Regions from separate parts of the Homo sapiens genome. Here region 2 is linked to region 1. Evidence: promoter capture Hi-C in 16 types of primary human blood cells and fetal thymus (Javierre and others, 2016). All regions are on one chromosome and are shown on one strand. Each heading gives the region's core, a stretch centred on a gene start or on the middle of the fragment in contact. The rest is flanking DNA. Distances are from core to core; before and after follow the strand shown. Region 1 holds the start of HMGA2-AS1 (HMGA2 antisense RNA 1). Region 2 overlaps TBC1D30 (TBC1 domain family member 30).

Region 1 (6,056 bases), core at 1,404-3,903:
TCAAATTTAAAACAAAAGTACAAAAACAAAAACAGTAAACACTTTAGGTGAATGTTGTGTTAAATGTCTATATTGAGCGTATATGTACACATATATTTATGCATATGTGGATGTGTGTTTATACATATATTCTATGTATATATCCTTGGGTGGGAACAGGGTGCAAAGATCTAAGCATAACATATCTCCACAGGGATTTATGTTCTTTTCAGTCTGGTATCTTTTAACTTAAAAACAACTCGATGAATAGAAATCATAAAAGCCATCCTTACAACAGCATTAAAGTGCTATTCTATTCTGCAGCATTCCAAGTGAATTATTGCTGTGCTGTCAAAGAAAACAAAAACATTTGAGAAGGACTGTTTATTTTACAGTGGTTGACCAAAAGTATGCAAGTGGTTATAAAAAAATGTAGACAGCTAACGATGGGAGGTGCCACTTGCACATTCTGAAATCCATTCACAAACCTTTGACACTAACTCTTGATCACTGGAGATAATATTAGAAGCAAAGCATTTTTCACGGGGAAAATCCTAGCACTTTGAAAGCATTTCAGGTCAAAGCAAATAAATAAAACCTCTATCCCTCATCCTGTATCACTGGCATCTCCTCACTCACAGAACCTAATGGCATGATTGTTTTTTCCCAAGAAGAGCAAGAAAACTTTGCAAAAATATTTCTCTCAGAGGTTATGGCAATGAAGGATTTTTGTGCCATGAAACACGTGTTGCCCTTTGTATTTAAAGATTAAAATAAAAACTGCTGTTGACAATGTTAATAGATTCTTTCATTAAACAAATATTTCATTTTAGAGCTATATGGGAAATTAGAGACCTCAAACACAGTCCCTGTATATTAAAGATAACAAAATGTATACTTAGGGAAGATAAATGACTTGCTTAAGGTCACACAGCAGGTAGCATGGAAGGATGAGTTAGAAGTACTAGTTCAGTGTTTGTATTTGTATGTTTTGCCTCAGAATCAGACAATGTACAGTTAAGACCTCATCGATATCTCCCGGTAAATGCTTATTTAATGTTTAAGAATTTTCACTGGTAAAGAGATTCTTATTCCAGGAGTCTAGGTCTTGGGGTTTAGGTTTCTTTTACTTAAAAAAAAAATTCCTCTGATAAGTGAGGATTCATTTAACTTTCTGGTGGATCATTAGGTACCTTTCAAGAAATGAGAATAATCATAACTGGCTCTATTTATCTTAGCATGGGTTGAAAGATATGAAAAGTTCCTTGATATGACTGGCACGATTCTATCCCATAAAACCACTCGTAAATATCAGTTGAAATAATGCCTGTAGGGAAAATTTTCAAATGTCCTTTCTGTCAATGCAGAAATGCCAGTGCAGCTTGTTTTCTGGGTGGCATGTAAGTTGTAGACAGGCACCACATTTTAGACATATTATGGTGGTGCGGTGAATTGACAGGCAGTTTACCACCATTTCCATGTATTAGATTATGTGTACCTCTGGCTATCCTGACACTTTGCCCCCAAAGTGGAGATAGTGAAAGAGAAGGAGAGAGGGAGAAGAACTCCTCGCATCTGTGCCCCTACCTCAGCAGCTCCTCCTCCTTGTCTCTGAGGGTCTCCAGAGTTTGAGAGTTTGGTGTCATGTTGGCCCAAGAGACTGTTGTCCTTTTGACAGCTCGGCTGTTTGTATCTCCAGAATGAAACATAATCAGATTTTTTTCAGATGTAGCATCTGCCTTCCCTCCAACATCCTTGGGTTAATCACGTGCTTGCTGGCCAGGATATGTAAATAAGACTTGGCTAAAAAAAACCCTTAAAGGATTATGAAGCAATCTTGCTTAATAGTAGCAGAACAAAACAAAACAAAAAACCACTCCAACAAATCCTCCTGTGTGCTACCAAGTAATGGAAAGATCCAGTTATGACTGGAACTGTCCTGGCCTGAGTATTGTCCTGGACCCAGAGGGAGCGAAGGAGGGAGGGAGGGAGGGAGGGAGAAAGAGAGAGAGAGAGGGGAGAAATATGAGAGGAGGAGAGAAATTGCTGAAGGAGAGCTTCACTCACTGACTCCGCACACATTCCCTCCCAGTGGTTGCTAATGAAGAGCCCGTGCTGGTGAAGGAAGCCTGCTGATCCCGGAACTGGCCTTGCGCGCAAGTGGTGGGATGACAGACACATTCCCTTCCTTGAACTGCACTCTTTTCCCTTGCACTCAGAGGTGGCCCGAGAGAGCCCCGGTAGGTCCCGGAGTATGTTTCCATGCTGCAGAAGGCATGGAGAGATTCCAATTGCGGGGGTTCCTCCGTAGCCTTTGCAGCTGAACGTCTCCATCTCCTGTCCCTGGGCGGTCAGTCGCTGGCATGGCTCTGTGGAGTTTTACCTCCCAGTTGTCTATCACCAAAGCTGTCCACCTTGTCCGGAGGGGAATGAGCGTGGAAACCCCTGGCGGCTGTACTGACAAAAGCAACCTTAGTCAATGACAGAGCTGGGCAGGCGGCGAGGTCTTGCGGGCTGGCCTTTCTGCTGCTGGTAGGAGGATCATGTGCTGCTATTTCGGAGGCTCCTGCCAGTTGGCCCCTGCCCACCTTTTCTGTTCATACTGAAGCAGCCAGGAACTGAGAGAAAGAGGAAGCCTCGGCTGTGCTCCGGGCTGCGCTGCCAGGGTTGCGTCTGTAGCAGGTCCAGCAGCAAAAACAAAACAGGGCAGAGCCCAGGGAGGCCCCAGCCACAGCAGCTGAGTGTGGAAACAAAGCAGCCCGCCCGCCCTGGGAAGCTGCCGCAGGCTGTGGAAGGGAACTTCTAGAGAGGCTGCATCCTCTCCAAGCCGGGAAACTGAGGCCTAGAAGACATGTGACGTATCTGAGCAGTGACCAAGCCAGGAGTAGAAATGTCTCCTGAGGGCCTGTCCCCACTGCTGTTTGGTTTTAATCGCTCAGCTCTTAATAGTGTAACCCTGGACAAGTGACTTACTCTCCCCAGCCTCCATCTCATCTGTAAAATGGGGATGAGAAAATACCTCTAAGGGTTGTTGTGACAATTAAATGAGAAAGCATAAACAAAGCACTTGGCACAATGCCTGGCCACTTAATGGGCCCTCAGTAAATGTTGGCTAGTTATGTGAACCAGAACTTGAGATGGAAGTGAAGCAGAAACGATAGGGAGTTGTTCAAAAATACCTGATCTGCTAGGGAAATATTTTTTAAAACAAGGCTGCTTTTCACAAGGAGGGGTAGGCACACTTGAATTAAGATCAGATTGATTATATGTTTTTGTTCAGCTTTGATGTTGAATTGTTTAATCAAATGGCAGACTCTGCCCCGCTTCCAGGAAGAGCTCAACTCCAACTAGGAGGAAGCAGGTAATGTGAGCCATGGCATCTTCCCCGTTTAGATTTCCTGACTCTTTGTTTATCTTCTTTGTCAATGTGCGTCTGAACCTTCCCAACAGAGTTTAAAATGTTCAACTTCAAAGCTAAATTCTGATGGAAAACACTTCCTAAGAGGCTGAAGGCTTACTCTAGGGGTGAAAGAAGAGGAAAGGCGATGGATCACACCACATTTGTGGAAAATGTTAATGCTATGTGATCTTGCCTCCTTAGACCCAGATAGATGCAAAGGATAAGGAACTCGGTTTATAGCAACAGATACTCCAAAAGTGCTTTGCATCCTGTTCTGACACTAACTGGTTGTGAATCACTTGTTAAAGATAAGGATAACAACAATACCATTTCTTGAGCCCTTACTGGGTGTCTGGTATTGTGCAAAGTACTGTCTATATATTACCTCAGTTTCCACAACAACCTTATGAAATATTTCTTCCTTTTGTGATGAGGAAAGTGAGACTTAGAGAGAAGTTAAATAACTTGTTCAAGATCACTCAGCTAATAAATGCTCCTATGCACTTAGTCACTGTGCTATGTCCTGCTTACCCCTTAATGTTGACCTTAATCCTAACTTGAATTTAGGTTAATGTCTATGCACTGCTTTTTTTTCACCTGCAAATCAAGGGCTGTACTAACAGTTTTGCTAAGGCCACTTCTTTGAAAATTGTAAATATTTCCAGAAAGAGGCACAGTTTACAATAAACATTCTTGCTTTCCAAATAAATTCTCCCCTATTAAAATCAATGTACCAGTTGTTATTTTCATACCTATGCATTGTTTAAGATAGAGAGTTCAGGACACAATTGAAAACTGGGAAAAATAATCTCGTGGTTCGGTTTGTTAGTTTGAGACGCAGTCTCACTCTGTCGCCCAGGCTAGAGTACGGTGGCCCAATCTCAGCTCACTGCAACCTCCAACCTCCCAGGTTCAAGCAATTCTCTTGCCTCAGCCTCCCGGGTAACTGGGATTACAGGCGCGCACCACCACGCCCAGCTAATTTTTGTGTTTTTAGTAGAGATGAGATTTTGCCATGTTGGCCAGGTTGGTCTTGAACTCCTGACCTCAAGTGATCCACCCACCTCGGCCTCCCAAAGTGCTGGGATTACAGGTGTGAGCCACCGTATCTGGCTCTCATATTTTTTATATACAGATTGAATATCCCTAATTTGAAAACCTGAAATCTGAAATCTTCCAAAATCCAAAACTTTTTGAGCAGTTACATGATATTTGAATGAACTGCTCATAAGAACATTTTGGATTTCAGATTTCCAGATTAGAGATGCTGAAGAGGTAAGTATAAGACAAATATTCCAAAATCTGAAGAAAATCAGAAATGCAAAACAGTTCTGGTCTCAAGCATTTCAGACACTCAGCCTGTATTTGCATGCTCATGGCTGTTGGGAAAAATTAACATATTCACCAAATTGTGCCTGGTCAATTGATAATGACTGATCAATATTAATGCACAAGTATATCTACTTTTGCTGTCAAGGGCAAAATTTAAACTTTACTTGCACTAGTCTTTATCTCTAAGGAAACTTGTACATTTATGCATGTAATTTGGTATCCTCAAGGTAAAAAGTCCAAATAGCATTATTTACTAAGTGAAATTTCTCTATTAAGATTTTTCATATCCTAATGGAATTATGCTTCTAAATTCTCAATATTTATTAGTATTGTTGAAATTTTGTGAATTAGATTCATCTGGATTAATATGTACTAGAATCATTACCTGTATGAACTTGGACGCGTTTCTTAATCTATCTGGGCCTTAGTTGCCTCAGCTGCAAATTGGGAATGAAAATGGTATCATCATATTATAATGGTTGTTGAGAATATTAAATGAGCTAATTATGTAAAGTGCTTCAAATTGCGCCTGGCACATAGTGCTATATGTGTTAATTAATTGTATTAATCACTTGTGACTTCCAATTGATTCTATTTTAATTGATATTCTATAATATAATTTGCTTCCTTCATCTCTCATGTATACAAATTAAATTTGTATAGAAAGTCTTCTCTTCTAAGAAATTTTCATTCTTGTACTTCACCCTCTCTTTAGCTCTGTAGTAAGTAGTTTCTGTTTATTTATTCCTTAGAACTTTATCTAGAGAAGCTTTTGATATTAAGCTGTGACATATAACAGATGAAATTACAGTCATTGAATTTATTTTCTCTGAATTACAGATTATTTTAGGTAGAATTTATCTTCCTTTTTTTTCTGGTGCCCAAGTCTTAGAGAAACATGTTTTCAGCCCTGATCATGATAAATAGTGGGTTTTTTAAATGACATCACGAGATACATATTTCTCAGATACAAAGGATTGTTGTTATGTTCTTTTGGCCAGAAGACACTCGTCTTCCTGGGAAATGTAGCCACAAAATGCTGGGTTTTAGTTTTATTAATATCCTTGTAGATTAAAAACAAAATGTTTTCCCTCTAAGTTTTTGTTCTTTTCCATTTGGCAAACCCGGTGATTTGCCACATGAGCCAATGTGTGTCTCATTTGCTTATTTTCTTGTGCACTAGCAGCCCTGGTGATAGCATCTGGAATGTGTGCAGTCCCTGGGAACAAATAACATGTTGGAAAATGGTTTACTTGGTGGCAGCAGGATCGCTCATGCACCTGACAGCACATGCCACGTATCTCAAGCCATTTGCCTTTGGTAAAAGTAGTTTTAAGATAGGCTG
Region 2 (5,663 bases), core at 151-2,650, 1.0 Mb before region 1:
TAATGCAATTGGAAATGCTCTTTTCCAAGGATTGCCAAGCTTTTTTCTTTTTAATTCCAAAAATCCCAGTGAACAGTCTGCTTTATTGTTTAATATATGCTGATTTGGGAGTTGTTTTTTCTTGCTTGAAGTGAATATCTTAATGAAAATGGTGCCTGTCCAGAATTAACTGAAATATAAATTTGACATGTTTTTAAAGTGGCATGTGAGCATGTGACTGATCCTGCACAAAAACTGAATTTACCTTCCATTTATCAGAGAAGAATAGTTGACTTCTTGATGATTCTCACTTTATCCTGAGTCATTAAGAAACCAGTCACAAAATAACTGAACAATTTCACTTTAAGTTTCAAAAACATTGGCACATACATTTCCTCATTTTGTCCTTAAAACAAATCTATGAGGAAGGCAAGGACAGATAGTCCCATCTTCTTCCAAATAGTGAGGAAATGGTGATTCAGGAAGGCTTAGCAATTGTCCAGGGTTATATAGCTATAGTGAGTGGTCAGGCCAGGGCTAGAACACAGGTGTTCTGATTCTTTGTACAGTCCCTTTTTAACTACACTGTACAAGTCTTTGGGTGTGACGGTAAACAATTGCTCAGGGTGCTAAATCGGCCCAGTGGTTTGTACCTTCATCAGGGATCAGCAAACTGTGGTCTGTAGGCCAAATCCTGCTCACTACCTGTTTTTGTAAATACAGTTTTTTGTTTGTTTGTTTGTTTTGAGATGGAGTCTTACTCTGTCATTCAGGCTGGAGTGCAGTGGTGCAATCTCAGCTCACTGTAACCTCCACTTCCCAAGTTCAAGCAATTCTTGTGCCTCGGCCTCCCAAGTAGCTGGGATTACAGGCATGCACCACCATGCCTGGCTGATTCTTGTATTTTTAGTAGAGACGGGATTTCACCATGTTGGCCAGGCTGGTCTTGAACTTCTGACCTCAGGTGATCTGCCCACCTTGGCCTCCCAAAGTGCTGGGATTACAGGAGTGGGCCACCGCACCTGGCCTGTAAATACAGTTTTATTGGAACACAGGCATGCCCATTTGTTTACAGGTTGTCTAAGGCTCCTTTCACACTACAGTGGCTAAAATATTTACAGTCTGGTCCTTTACAGGAAAAGTTTGCTGACCCCTTCTTCAGATCATGGTTGATGGTGGTTCTCTTTAAGGGAGAGATTGCTGCTCAAAGGCAAAGCTCTAGAGCTTTGGTTCTTGAAATTTAGTGTGCATACAGATCATTTGGGGATCTGCTAAAATATTCACTCTGTTTCAGTAGGTTTGGAATGGAGCTGAAATTATATGTTTCTAACAAGCCCGTAGGCACTGCTGGTGCTGCTGCATGGGGACTGTATTAGTCTGTTTTCACACTGCAAATAAAGACATACCTGAGACTAGGCAATTTATAAGAGGCTTAATGGACTTACAGTTTCACATGGCTGGGGAGGCCTCACAATCATGGTGGAAGGCAAGGAGGAACAAGTCACATCTTACGTGGATGGCAGCAGGCAAAGAGAACTTGTGCAGGGAAACTCCCATTTTTAAAACTATCAGATCTTGTGAGACTTCTGCACTATCATGAGAACAGCACGGGAAAGACCTACCCCCATGATTCAATTATCTCTTACTGGGTCCCTCCTACAACACGTGGGAATTATGGGAGCTACAAGATGAGATTTGGGTGGGGATATGGCCAAACCATATCAGAAACCATGGTTTGAGTAGCATGGTTTTAGATGAGATGGTATATGATAGGATTAGCAGCACAGGTGGAGAGATTGAACTTGAACTAGAGGCAAAAAGACCTTAGCTTCTGAGACTTAGTGGAAGGTGGTGAGTATGGTGGTTGAGGTATCAGCTTCCGAAGTTAGGGAGGATGGGAAATAGAGGCCTTTCAGATCTGATAGCTTTTGTTTTCATGGAGTAATTGGGGGAAAGTTGTTTGGTGGGGATTGGGAGTAAATGAGAGGTTAAAGAAAGTAATGAAGATTTAGTTAGGTCACTGAAGGGAGCGAGAAAGGGAAATGAAAAGATTGTTTGGCATTGAGGACCCAGTGAAATGGGAGGTCATGAATTTAAAGGGCTCAGTTTCAGAAAAGAGAATGTAGATCATGGACCCTAGGTTGGGGCTTTACTAGCAATGTGTGACAAAGAGACAGGGATGCCTGTGAGGGAGTGATCTAAGCGGTCAGCCATGCATCTGGCAGGGTAGGGGTGTCAGTGAGCCGAAGACACATGAGGGGTTGTGAGGAGCCTGAGGAACAAGGAGCCAGAAGTCTCTGTGGTTCATTACCACATATAGTTAGACTGAGAGCCTGAGAGCTAGAAGAGCCAAAATGAGGAGTATTAGAATTAAATATTTTCACATAAGGTAGAGCTGGGTGATAATGTTTAGGATGGAACTGGAGAGGTTGAGGAACTATGAGAATGTAATGGAGGGCCAATCACAGTGACAGTCAAATAATTGGGGAGGTGGCAGGAATGTGGTGAAGAGGAGACAGTTATCAACATTTTTAGTTGATACTGGGGTATGACCAGTGGTAAATGACAACAGTAGAGAAGGGTGGAAATTAGTTCAGCCAGATGACATGGACATCAAGGAAGAAGGAAACTCGCACACAGAGGGAGAGGCCTTCTCCCTACAATTTCTGTCTGCAGCTGCCATCCTGGGACCATGTGTGTTGAATGCTGCATTGGAAATAGGAGTCTGGTCATAGCCGCAGGTGGTCAATGATAATGCCATCGACAGTGCCTTCTAGGAGAACAAAGCTTTTTTGTTCGTTTGTTTTGAGAAGGAGTCTCACTGTATTGCCCAGGCTGGAATGCAGTGGCGCAATGTCAGCTCACTGCAACCTTCACCTTCCGGGTTCAAGCAATCTCCTGCCTCAGCCTCCCAAGTAGCTGGGACTACAGGCATGCACCATCACACCTGGCTAATTTTTGTATTTTTAGTAGAGACAGGGTTTCACCATGTTGGCCAGGCTGGTCTCGAACTCCTGGCCTCAAGTGATCCTCCTGCCTTGGCCTCCCAAAATGCTGGAATTACAGGCATGAACCACGGCACCTAGCTGAGGACAAAGCTTTTGGTGCTTTTCAGTTTTCAATTGGCTTTCGAAGTCCATTGAGGACACAGGAGTGGTTTTTCACCTGTAGGGCTAGATGCTGGATAGCTGTGATTTCACTGCATTCTCACTACCTTTTTATCACTTCTGTCATTCTGCTGGATCTCACTTCATAATATGCAGTGTGTTCTTTTCCTACCTCTCAGAGGCTGACAGATGATAATCCATATGGTCATAGTGTTTGTTGTATTATTTTTTTTAAATCTGCAAAGATTTTTCTAAGTACAGTAACTCAGAGGTTGCTACTCAGAGCCAAGAGCTCTCTGTAAAAAAAAAAATTAGGGAGTCCAGGCTCTGATTAGGAATGAGGGGTCAGATGTTCCTTTTTGTATCATCACCCTGTGGTCCCTTCCTCTTTAAAGAAGAGCGCATTGGTATTCCAGGCTCTTCGGTTGAATTCAGTTTCTGCTGTCTTCAGTCACATGACTCTGCCCCTCCCTGGGGAACACATGGGAAGGGATGTGGTAGACGGGGCTGGGAGGACCTCTAAGTGATTTCTGTTCCAAGATGGATGTGTTTCTTTGTGGTACACTTCATACTACCTTTCAACATTTCTTTCAGACAAAGGGCCAGTGACCAGCATTCTCCCGTCTCAGGTAAACAGTTCTCCAGTTATAAACCACCTTCTTTTAGGAAAGAAGATGAAAATGACTAACAGAGCTGCCAAGAATGCTGTCATCCACATCCCTGGTCACACAGGAGGGAAAATATCTCCTGTCCCCTACGAAGACCTTAAGACGAAGCTCAACTCCCCGTGGCGAACTCACATCCGAGTCCACAAAAAGAACATGCCAAGGACCAAGAGTCATCCGGGCTGTGGGGACACCGTAGGGCTGATAGATGAGCAGAACGAGGCCAGCAAGACCAATGGGCTGGGGGCAGCAGAGGCATTCCCCTCTGGTTGTACAGCGACAGCTGGGAGAGAAGGCAGCAGCCCTGAAGGCAGTACCAGGAGGACGATCGAGGGGCAGTCTCCGGAGCCGGTGTTCGGAGATGCTGATGTGGATGTGTCTGCAGTTCAGGCGAAGTTGGGAGCCCTGGAACTGAACCAGAGGGATGCTGCAGCTGAAACTGAGCTCAGGGTGCACCCACCCTGCCAGCGGCACTGCCCAGAGCCGCCGAGTGCACCCGAAGAAAACAAAGCCACCAGCAAAGCTCCCCAAGGCAGCAACTCAAAAACCCCCATCTTTAGCCCTTTTCCCAGCGTCAAGCCCCTGCGGAAATCTGCTACTGCCAGGAACTTGGGATTATATGGCCCTACAGAAAGAACCCCAACTGTGCACTTTCCTCAAATGAGTAGGAGCTTCAGCAAACCCGGCGGTGGAAACAGTGGCACTAAAAAACGATGATGTCTCCCCGAAACTTTGTATCTGGACTCACCTTTTCACAGTAGTATAAGGGTTGCAGCTGAATGGCTCTAAAAGAGTTTTATTTGTCCAGTGAAAATGAATAGGTTCAGGGATGAGCAACAGCCCATAAAAAATGGGAACTGGAAGTTTTATAATAGGAGTTAGAACAGGGCTGTTTTCCCAGCTACTTGCTAACTGACGAAGTGGATTCTTGTGGCAAAATAAATATTGTGGTTTTATAGTGTGAAGTTTTCCCAATTTTTCATTGTGAGCTGTTTAAAAAAGACTATATCTAGATTGTTAACTCTCGTCCATCCTTCTGTTCTGGGGGCCTTCAGAGTCCCTGTGACAGCACCCCCAAACCTTCCAGTTCTCTGGGTGTTACTAATACTCAAGCATGCACATACCAGCTTGCTAGGACAGAAACTGTAAAAAGAAAGTAAGTTTCTTCGTTACAAAAAACTTCCTGATTTTCCTTTTCATGCTTTACGGAGGGGATTGTGTCGTGTGAGATTTCCCACAGTACCAGTTTCAAATTTTTTTTTTATTCTTATGCTAAATCATAGGAGAAAAATCTAGATAGCCTTTCTTTAACTGTCTATTTCTACCTGCAAAATGAAGAAAACCTTTCATCTGTTGAAATTTCAATCGATAACCCAGCTGAAGATCTTATGCACAGGACACACTTGGCATATGCTTTACGCAGTTGCTCCGGACAGCTTGCTCGCGCCACTGAGCTTTTCCTGAGGTTTGTGTTCGCCTCTCAAGGAGAGCTTTGATCCTCAGTGGTACGGATGACTTGATGGGCTCCATGCGGAGCCTGGCCTGCATCCCCCACCACACAGCTCACTCACCCACCAGCTCTAGACTGCAGACGCACAAGGCCTCTGCTCAGAAGCCAGAACACAGCACCTGTGACTCTGTTACTTGAATTTTGTGCTTTTTGATTGGAGTCCTTTGTTGAGTACTTTGTTAATTGAACACTGCCTTTCTCTGGAGAAGGCCCCAGTGCTTTCTAGCTCCCTCTCACTCCTGCCCTTTCTAGCTCTCTCTCACCCAGCGGGTCAGGGATAGCACCTCTTGTCTCCACTATGCAGATGGGAACTCTGAGCCACACAGAGGTGAAGTAGCACTTCAGTTACTCAAGGTCAGTACTCTCGGTATTCCAAGTGACTTAGCCACATTTCCTTCAGTG

Evidence for each region. The method cuts DNA at HindIII sites, captures the fragments that hold promoters and counts their contacts. A CHiCAGO score of 5 or more calls a contact.
Region 2: a fragment that was not itself captured here is called in contact with the fragment with the promoter of HMGA2-AS1 in region 1 in 1 of 17 cell types (naive CD4 T cells); the score reaches 6.0 in naive CD4 T cells.

Annotation. Positions count from the first base shown.
Region 1 is chr12:65,879,672-65,885,727 of GRCh38, forward strand. It overlaps HMGA2-AS1 (HMGA2 antisense RNA 1), which reads right to left and starts at 2,654. Exons shown (of 3, transcript NR_158985.1): 1 at 2,047-2,654. All of the region lies in intron 3 of HMGA2 (high mobility group AT-hook 2), which reads left to right. The HindIII fragment of the contact is 6,963 bases long and covers 1-5,478 here.
Region 2 is chr12:64,871,321-64,876,983 of GRCh38, forward strand. TBC1D30 (TBC1 domain family member 30) reads left to right here. Exons shown (of 12, transcript NM_015279.2): 12 at 3,681-5,663. The coding sequence ends at 4,468. Among named protein-coding and RNA genes, the nearest start is that of LINC02389, 9.6 kb to the right of the region's middle. RefSeq lists enhancers at 1,417-1,496, 1,527-1,626. The HindIII fragment of the contact is 2,727 bases long and covers 38-2,764 here.